Linked DNA regions of Homo sapiens: all the other regions are linked to region 3. The links are contacts of gene promoters, found by promoter capture Hi-C in blood cells and fetal thymus (Javierre and others, 2016). All regions are on one chromosome and are shown on one strand. Each heading gives the region's core, a stretch centred on a gene start or on the middle of the fragment in contact. The rest is flanking DNA. Distances are from core to core; before and after follow the strand shown. Region 1 has its middle 160 kb from the start of LINC00588. Region 2 has its middle 120 kb from the start of LINC00588. Region 3 holds the start of CYP7A1 (cytochrome P450 family 7 subfamily A member 1).

Region 1 (3,576 bases), core at 100-2,599, 1.1 Mb before region 3:
TGAGGAAATTGTCCAAAAGCAGAATTTTGTACAGATATAGATATAAAATATATATGAAATAGTATATATTATTAATTATATATAACATATAAAATATATAATATATAATTATATATGAAATAATACTTTAATTATATATGTAAATAATATACACTATTTGTATATATTCATATATATTTATATATGAATATATAAAAAATTATATATTTATACATCTATATGTAAGTATATATTAGTATATCTATATAAATATAAAATATAAATATATATAAAAATATATCTTTCTATATGACTATATAAAAATATATATGAATATATATGAAATTATATATTTATATATCAATATATAGATATATACACATACATCTAATCTCTTGTGAGGAACAGCAGGAAGTGGTTGGGGAGGGGGTTCTGCTGAAGTGATCCTCATTGGGATATGAATATATATGAAATATATATGAATATGTATGAAATTATATATTTATATATCTATGTATGAAATATATCTATATATTGATATACCAAATATATCAAAATATATCGATTGATAATATCAAATTGATACATCAAATATATCAAAATATATCAATTGATATATCAAATTGATACATCAAATATATCAATAGATATATTAAAATATACCTATTGATATATCAAAATATACCTATATATTGATATATCATATATATCAATATGCATGAATATATGAATATATAAATATATATGTAATTATATATTTGTATATTAATATAGAAAATATATGAAATTATATATTTATATATTAATATATAAATATATATACACACATATCTAATCTTTAGTGAGGAACAGCAGGAAGTGGTTCGGGAGGGGGTTCTGCTGAAGTAGCGCTCATTGGGAAGCTTGAATAAACAGATAGGTCCTCAAGTCCCCACTTGCTCCTATCCACCCAGTTGACAGGGGCTCCAGACTTTGAGACGAAACTCACTGAGGAAGCTGGGGGTAATTGATTAAAATCTGCACACTGCATGATTATAAGCCCCACCCATATATATATGAAATATATGTGTATAAGCATGTATGAAATTAGTCTAAAAACTACATTTTACATAGGGACCATAAACATAACTTGACCCTTGAGATAAAACTACATATTATGCAACGGGGGTGCTGAGGTATCTTGAGATACTGGATGGCAAATGCTATACAACTCAGATTTGGGAGGTTAGAATTACTTCCATAATGTAGCTGGCCCACAAAAAAATACTAGCCCCAAAAAGTATGTAATTAAAAGGAAAGATTGTTTATCCAACCTTTTTTCAACTGCATCCTTATAATATATCAGATGCCTTTCAGGGGTGTTTTTATTTTTTTGTCTTTCTGTATTTCCACGTTTTATACAATATCTATGTATTTCTTTCATAATTGCATTGGGAATAATGAATTCTGCTTTGAGTCCTTTAAAATTCAAAAGATATAAATGAATTTTGGGAACTTACAACAATAAACATTTCTGATATACTCACAGATAGTAAAACAAATTACTATCATCTAGTTAAATAACAGCAAAACGTTCTGACATTGAATTTAGTCATTCCACCCTCAATTATGTGATGATCTCCTAAAGGTAAATATTAGAAATTTTCTCTCTCCAGACCCTTATTAAAGAGAAAATCATATGCTCTATAGAAGATACGCTGTCCACTTTTATAAGAAAATAGAATGTTCTTCTTTAACCAGAGTCTTTTATTATTCAGATAAGATTTTGAGGGTCAGATTCTGAGCTGCAACTTGAAATTTCCTCTGACTCTTTTCTTGGAGTAATTCAAAATTGGCAGGAAAGCTTTTGTTTGCTAACCACCAAGTAATTATTTCATCATAAGGCTCAGAAGAGAAAGAATGTCTATTACTTCTGCTTTTGAAGAGGCACCTTCAAGAAAGATTCAAACCCATTGCACAAGGGGTGGAAAAATAGACAGACACATGCAATTTGAATTTGGCAGGAGTATGAAACGCCTTTGAGATATTAGATTTTCCAGTTGCACCGCCTAGCAGAGTGAGAGCTGTCAAACTTGGAGAGACCAGTATGTTTTTAGTATATATAAATAACATATTGTTCACAGGATTAACAAAGGGTGGGGAAGTCCTGTGTTGTAAATAAAAGAATATCTTTGAAATATTTAGGTCTTGGACCAACTGCTGTAGATTATGTATATAATCTTGGATAAAATCCCTAAATTAGAGCTCTGTGTCTTTGACATGAACCTATCAAAGTTTGCTATTCTGAATCCTCTTATTAGATTTTGTGAGAAAAGAGGACTGGATTAGGAGTCAGACCTTTAGGCTCTGGCCCCACCTTTGTCACTTACTGTGTGGCGAGGGGTTTGAACTTCAGTTTCCTCATCTATAAAATGGGGATATAATTCCTAGTTACTTAATACATTTAATAGTCATGAGATGATACATTTAAAAGTATTTCACAAACTATAAAATGTTATAAACATGTAAAGAATTATTATTAGTAAACATAGTGCATGTAAAGGAATTTTCAAATTATGTAAAAACTCTTATGCGATACTATCACTGTGCCTTTTATTAGTTGTGTTGTCAAAGCTTGAGAATCCAGAGAGCTTTCTATACTGCTCTACCTGATAAACCCAAGGTAACAAATTGTAAGATGTGTGGTCACTGGGGACTTGTCCCATGCTGGTTACATCATCAAGAAGTGGCGCATGGCATGGAGGGAAGAGCGCCTGACTTGGATCAAGATGCGCCTGAGTTTGGTTTGCCAGATCCTTGTAGAACCTTTAGGAAGCAGCTGAGCCTCTATTTTTTTTTTTCTCTAACGAAGGATTGAACTAGATAACCTCTAAATTTTTATCCAGTAATAAAATTATATTATTGTATAATTGCTTAAAATATCAATTGTCTTTGAGGGTTCACTAGAGTGATTCAACCTTTGTGCTATAAGCCCCTGTGAGGGGCTGCAACTACGATTCTACAGGAATCACTGAGCTACTTAAAGGCAGGATTAGGGAGAGGTATTTTTGTTTTACTGCCCAGAGTTGACCCTACACAGCCAAGTGCCCACCAACGATAGTAGTAAACAACCCAGGAGCCATCATAATATGAATAAACAGCAAGGGTCCCACCTGCCGGGCCAGTGAGGTGTGCTTTATTGTCATGGTGTTCCTAGGAGCAGCTGAAGATAAACCTATACCAGATGGCCTGACTCCATTGCTTTGAAATTACCACCTACTTTAGAGGGGAGTCCTAAGCCCTAAATCTCTAGGGAACTGATTAATTAAATCAACCATTTTTGAGGATTAGATTTTGTTTTGAAGCTGTTCATAAGCCAAAGGTATTCAACATGAAAAAAATATATATATATATTTTTGAGACAGGGTCTCACTCTGTCACGCAGTACAGTGGCACTATCCTAACTCACTGTAACCTATAACTCCCAGGCTCAAAGGATTCTCCCACCTTAGCCTCCCAAGTAACTGGGACTATGGGCATGCACCATCATGCATAGCTAAGTTTTTCAGTTTTTTTAGAGAAGGAGTCTCCCTATGTTGCCAGAGTGCTGGAATTACA
Region 2 (3,465 bases), core at 878-3,377, 1.1 Mb before region 3:
TTTAAAACAAAGATGATAACAACCCTTTCCAAAACAAAACCCCTTCTTGCCTGGGCACTAGACTGCCTTTGTAGGACTAACAAATTAGCTGAAAGATTAGAAATTATGGTTTAGAGGTCATACAGCTAGAGACTACAAGATTCTGACCCTCCCCAAATTGTTCCTGGGGATAACATCACTATTGTAAAACCTAAGATCAGTGCTTGAGATATATTGCAGACCCTGTATTTGTTAGCTCAGCTGACACCACTCAGATCGATAAACTGTCTCATCTGATCTTGTGGCCCCCACCCAGGAACTGATTCAGTGCAAGAGGACAGCTTTGACTCCCGATGATTTTGTTTCTGATCTCATTCACCAAATTAACCTTAAAAACTCTGATGCCAGAATGCTTCGGGAGATTGATTTTAGTAGTAATACAACATGAATCTCCCACACAGCTGGCTCTGCATGAATAACTCTTTCTCTATTGCAATCCCCCTGTCTGGATAAAATGGTTCTGTCTAGGCAGCAGTCAAGGTGAACCTGTTGGGCAGTTACACTATAAATTTTATTAAACACTATGAAATCCCCTTGGGGCAGCATAGCAATTGCAGCCTAAATGATTCAGATCATTCCAAATTGAGGGATGGGAACTGAAGGGGCAGAAAGTGGGCAATCCCTTTCCTCCCCATCATAAGGGTCATGCCCAACACCCCTATAACAAGAATGAGTTAACAAGAGAGAAGCACAAGTTTATTTGATTATAGTTTTATGTGACATGGGAGCCTTCAGGATGAGTGGCCAAAAGATACAGGGGAACTGATCTATTTTTATGTTTAAGTTCAATAAAGTATAGAGAGGCCTGTGGAAAGGTGATTGGACAAAAAGCCTAGGGTCTAATGCTAATAGGCTGAGGGGGGAAACCCAGAAAGGCCTGTCTGTTCAGATTCTTCTTGGCCTTTCTGTGAAGCATTCCTTCCTCTCTGGTATGGGGCAGGACCTTTCTGGAATAAGGGTCTTAATTTCTTTATGGCCAGCTATCACACAGAAGGGCAAGGAGGTGGGGATTAGAGTAATATTTTTGGGCTTTATGGCTGGCTTTGGGGGAATGGCGTTCTGCTTTTTATTACCAAGCTTTGGGAAGAGGGATTCCATTTTCTATGGCTTGCCTCAGGGGAGAATGAGAGATGAGGGAAGGGAGGGCAGGAGAAGGTCAGAGACTTTGCTTTTGAGGCTGCTTCTGAGGCCTCTACTTAGGGTATCATTTTCTGGGCACCAACAAGACCAATGTTTTTGCTTTTTCCCTTTAACATCCAGTGAAAGGGAGCTGGAGTATTTGAGCCTCTAGTTTCCATCTTTGAGACACATACCCATTTCCTTTTCCTTGGGAAGGCCACAGTTCATTCTCTTTTGATAAAAGCACAGGACAGAGATAGTCATCAAGATGTCAAATAGCTACAATTGCTATGCCTGCCAAGCAGTAGATAAAGCTGAGTAATAAGATGAAACTCATAGATAGCCAACCCTTAAGAGTGTAAGCCAAAAATAAGATTCTACAGCTCCCCAGCCATGTGAATGGATCCCTCCTTTCAACCAAAGATATTTCAGAGTTAACTTGAAAACCTAGTTCAGACAATGATGAAAGAGGAGGTTGGACATGCCTCATTATACTCCTTCAGCATTAAGATCAACACAGACCTTAAGTTTGATAAGAAACATTTATCATTTATTCTCTCTGAAGACTGCTCCCAGGAGGCTTCATCTGCATTATAAACCCTCAGTCTCCACAACCCCTTATCTTAACCCAGACATTCTTTTCTACTGATAATAACTCTTTTAACCAATTGCCAATCAGAATATTTTAAAATCTACCCATGACCTAGAAGCCCCCCAACCCATTTTGAGTTGCCCTGCCCTTCCGGATCGAATCAATATAAATCTTACATGTACCAATTGATGTATTATGTCTCAGTAAAACGCATAAAAGCAAGCTGTACCTGGAACACCTTGGACATATTTTGTCAGGACCTTCTGAGGCTGTGTCATGGGTGTGTCTTTAACCTTGGCAAAATAAAACTTTCTAAATTGATTGAGACTTGTCTCAGATAATTTTTGGTTCACAAGGCAGAGGAGATATTACTAAATAACTTTTGAAGCTGTGACTACCAGCTCAGGTTTCAGGCAGCTGGGGCTGAACTCAGTCTGGATAGACAACTACTGGTCAACAGGCCAGCCGAGAAATGGCTCCTGTAGAAATGGAGCTTTCACTTACGGGAGAAGGATGAGCCAATAACCGACTTCAAAGGATAAGGGCATAATGACTGAACCAGGACAGTAACATACCAACCCCTATAATCAGGGGTGCGAGTCTCTTACCACAGGAGGGTAGGAGAGGTGTTGTAGGCAAAGAATAGCCACCACGGGTGGGTGGGATTTTAAGCCTATTTTTTCTGCCTGCAAAGATGGCAGGTGTCCATTTCACTATTAATCCACTAGAACAACATATCATCTAGCATAGAGTGGCCTCATTATCTGAGCGATCATTATTCAAGTTGTGCCAGTTTTTGTTTAAATTAATTAATTTTTCAAATGCCAACTTTTATTTTAGATACAGGACGAACATGTGCAGATTTGTTACATGGCTATGTTGCACCCAGGTAGTGAGCACAGTACCCAATGTGTAGTTTTTAAGGCCACATCCCCTTCTCTTCCCCTTCTAGTAGTCTGCAGCATCTATTGTTTCCATGCACCACAGTTTTTTAAAGACTGTACCAAGAAATGTTTTTTAGTTATATCAGAAAATATTTATTAAAGGACTAAAGAACTGACCACTTGAAAAACCAGTCCCCATTCATATGTCATTCCACTTAATATGGGCATCTATCCTTGATAACTCTAGCTACATCTTCACCAATATCTCACAAACTGTAATTATATATGAAAATATAATGCAAACACATGTAAATTGCTGGTGCAGTGGTATTATAAACTTTTTCAGAAGATGTGGGTTCTTTATGAAGCTGATAAAGTGATTCTGGAGAATTGGCTGATACCCAATGAAGATGGGCAAATGACTGAACAAGAGCAGAAGAATGCTGCTTGACAAGAGAAGGGTTTGAAAAACAAAGGATTAAGATAAACCATGGGGAAAATTCATGAAGCTTGGAATGTTTTGGCAGACTTGCCTCTTGTATTAGTCTATTTTTGCACTGCTATAAAGAACTACCTGAGACTAATTTATAAAGAGAAGAGGTTTAATTGAGTCACAGTTCCACATGGTTGCAGGCCTCAGGAAATGTACAATCATGGCAGGAGGTGAAGGGGAAGCAAGGCACGTCTTACATGGTGGCAGGAGAGAGAGAGACAGCTAGTGAGGAACTGCCAAACACTTTTAAAAGATCAGATCTCATGAGAACTCACTCACTATCATGAGAACAGTATGGGGGAGACTGCCCCCATGATCGAATCCCTTCCCACCAGGTT
Region 3 (3,507 bases), core at 506-3,005:
ATTGCAGAGCACAGCCCAGGTATGGAATTAATCCATTCTCTAGAGGTGGTTCACCCGTTTGCCTGTCAGACACAAGTGTATGATAGACATGGATGATTACAGTTTTGGGTTTTTACTTACATCAGGTTTTAAAATTTTTCCCACTGACTTCAAACTTTGAAACCCTATAGTTTATAGATATTTCTTTTGTTGGATGGGCCCTGCTCTTTTACTACAGTAATAGGTTATATTAACCTAGTAACATGATATGTTGGTGGAAAGGATTACTAAATCCATCCATTCATGCATCCGTCCATATACACATTCAACAAGCACCCGTCTACTATGTGCTCATCACTTTTCCCAGTGATACAGGCAAAAGGATTTACAAGACCAACAAGATTCTTGTTGTCAGTGCGGAAACAAAACTACATTCTAGTGTTTATCACTTTGCTAAGCATCATTTTTCTAAATATCTCAAAATGTTTCTTTTGATTATTTTCTTTAAAGACACAGATCACTGAATAAGGGAGGATTTCAGAACTGAGGTTTTGAAAATATTCCTAGTTTAAAGATATCTATATTATATTCTATAAGGATGGTTTCAGAGAAGAAGAATCTCATGTGAGAAATCAGCTTATTATAAAATGAAATTGAGTAAGATAAACACTGACGGAATCATCTATTGTAATTCAGTGCTCCTTTAAAATGTTTTTATTAGAACATGTAAACTTATTTTCCAACATAAACTTCTGTACCTCTTGATAGAATAATACAGTATAAAGTAATTACCTTTCTTTTCTTAGTTTGAAGATAAGTAGTTTAATTAAAAGTAAAAACTATCAGGCCTGAAAGAAACTGCAAAAGGCAGAAAACACATAGCAATCTACAAAGCTGAAAGATGGTTAGGGTTATTTTCTCTTTTTGAGATTGACATAGCAGAGAATATCTATATGCCTCCCCACAATTACTCCTTGAGCCAATTAGAAGTTAAATAAACTATGGTTCTGGATCTGACTGTATTTGTTTTTCTTGCATTCTTGAACCAGTTGTAAATAAATGAAATCGATGTCACATACACTCAGCAAACTTTCCCAATTCACCACAGTTGATTAACATTTATTTAAAAACAGTAATAGAATGATCAGCTCAGGCTCTATGCTCTTGTTCAGGCTTAGGCTGAGTCTATGCGATGCACAAGAATGAGCTTAAAAGAGAACATTTATTTAACAAGAGTATCTATTGAAGCCATGTGAGAGAAAGCAATCCTTTCCATTGTAGATTCCCACTTGCTACTTGTATCCTTACTAATCTGGGCTTCCTCTTTAGATACACATATAAATGTACATAGAGACCTTATACAATTTCTGTCAGTTATGTTTAACACCAATATACATTTATATATTACCATCGGTATATGCCAATACTAAAAAGGGAAGCTGTCATATGTCTTGTGAGATATAGTAAAAAAGATATTACTTTAAAAATTCAAATCAAATTTTTCATTTAAAAAATAAGGAAGATAATGCTAATATGTGTAAGTATAGAAAACCAAATTTACTGTATAAAAATGAAGGTAAAAAAATTAAATGGATGAATCAAAGAGCAATTTAAAGATAAAACATTACTTACCTTCTCCTAATTCCAAGAATAAGCCATAGACAACAGCATGCTGCTATAGCAATCCCCCAAATCAAAGATGTGGTCATCATTTTGCAAATCTAGGCCAAAATCTCTGAGGAAGAAAATCTCTGATTAGAAAGGGAAGGATGCCACTGAAAAGAGACTCAAGCTAGGCTTTTTATATACATAGTATCCAGATCCATTAACTTGAGCTTGGTTGACAAAGCAAACAATTAGCCATTTGTTCATTCTATTAGAAAAAAAAAAGTGGTAGTAACTGGCCTTGAACTAAGTCCACAGGTATCAGAAGTGGTTCCAAAGCAATCAGAGACCTGCAATACTTGATAAGTTGAAGGTCTCTCAAATATATGTTGACTTAACATTCGGACCTGGGGACAACAGCTAATATTAAGAGTTTGGTATGTGTAAAAAGAACAAATAAACCTGTTTAAGATGGGCATAGCTAATAAATACATAAACTATAATCATTTAAAGAAAGATAAGAATGAGTTATTCATCAAGCTTATAATTTGGTCTTGTTAACTTTTAAAGAAGAATTAATTTAGGTGCTTTGCCAGAGAGACGGTGATCAAGTTCAGAGGAAAGAGAACTGGGAAAAACATTTCTGCTGCTTCATGTTTCAGTGCTTTTATAAAATCATAGATATTTTACTACATATAGTAACATGTTACTCACCTAACATCCTCAAGAGAGTATTCTACATAAGTGCATCCTCTAGATAAATATAACTTATTGGAAGCATCAAAATTTTATCTATCATTCTTGTGACTAAAATGTTTATCAATGTTTCTAATTATTAAAGTAATAAATTTCATTTCAAGTAAGTTAAGACTAACTAAAACATATCTTGGTGGAAAGTGAACATCTATTAATAATTTACCTACCATGCTACTCCTTTACTCAGAAGTAACCACTAGTAACAATTTGGCATCTGTTCTTCCAAACTTTATTTCTGTGTACACAAAAATATTAGTTGAGTATTTATTACGTGCCAAGAACTCTTCAAAAGTATTCCAGTTGCAGGCATTAATAAGATAGGCAGATTTCCTAATCTAATGGAGATTCTATTCCAATGGAGAAAGGAGTAATAAAATACATGTTATGAAAAAAATAAAACATGGTATAGAAAGCTATGGGGGAATGAGGACAACTTTAGATATGATGATCAGAGATGGGCTCTCTGAAATTGTGACATTTGAGATCTGAATGACAAGAAGAGACTACTCATGTGAATATCAGAAGGAAGGATATTCCAGGAAGAGGAAGCAGCAAATGCAATGTCTTGAGTCAAGGATCAACTTGGTGAGTCTAAGAACCAAAAAGAAGGATGTATCCTACTGAAGCAGAGTGAATGAGAGTTCACAGAATTAAGACAAAAGAAGGTAGGCAACAGTACTGTGTGTGTATATATATGTATATAAACACACACACACATACACCCACAGTATTCTCTATATTTATACATGTGTGTATCTATATGTGTGTATAAATAATTATATTGAATATGTGCTTAATCTTCCATTGGATAAATGTACTATAATTTATTTAACTGATTTCCTATTGATGGATATGTGGGTTGTTTCCAGTTTTGGCTATAGATGCCATAGATTTATTTCATGTGTTTTTTGTTTTTGCCTGTTTAAACAGAGATCACACATTTTTTGTGTGTAATTTATCACCATAAATATTAATATCAATCATTGTATGGCAGTACATAGATTTTTCTTAGAATCTAGGTTTTTGGGGGGCTTTGTGCATTTATTTAGACAGGTGGATTTTTAAAAAATTAATATATCTTTTTAAAAATATGGCTTATAGAAAAGCTGATCTTATACATGGACAATCACAGCAAGATATCCCAGTCAGATAAAATGCCAATCTAAT

What was found. The method cuts DNA at HindIII sites, captures the fragments that hold promoters and counts their contacts. A CHiCAGO score of 5 or more calls a contact.
Region 1: a fragment that was not itself captured here is called in contact with the fragment with the promoter of CYP7A1 in region 3 in 3 of 17 cell types (total B cells, naive CD8 T cells and fetal thymus); the score reaches 6.8 in total B cells.
Region 2: a contact is called between a fragment that was not itself captured here and the fragment with the promoter of CYP7A1 in region 3, in 2 of 17 cell types (total B cells and total CD8 T cells). The highest score is 5.9, in total B cells.

Annotation. Positions count from the first base shown.
Region 1 is chr8:57,439,664-57,443,239 of GRCh38, forward strand. No RefSeq gene overlaps it. Among named protein-coding and RNA genes, the nearest start is that of LINC00588, 160 kb to the left of the region's middle. RefSeq lists an enhancer at 2,919-3,420. The HindIII fragment of the contact is 941 bases long and covers 880-1,820 here.
Region 2 is chr8:57,400,766-57,404,230 of GRCh38, forward strand. No RefSeq gene overlaps it. Among named protein-coding and RNA genes, the nearest start is that of LINC00588, 120 kb to the left of the region's middle. The HindIII fragment of the contact is 2,027 bases long and covers 1,115-3,141 here.
Region 3 is chr8:58,498,408-58,501,914 of GRCh38, forward strand. CYP7A1 (cytochrome P450 family 7 subfamily A member 1) reads right to left here and starts at 1,756. Exons shown (of 6, transcript NM_000780.4): 1 at 1,612-1,756; 2 at 1-62. The coding sequence starts at 1,691. RefSeq lists a silencer at 48-1,634, a promoter at 1,732-3,507 and an enhancer at 1,966-2,187. The HindIII fragment of the contact is 6,882 bases long and covers 1-2,122 here.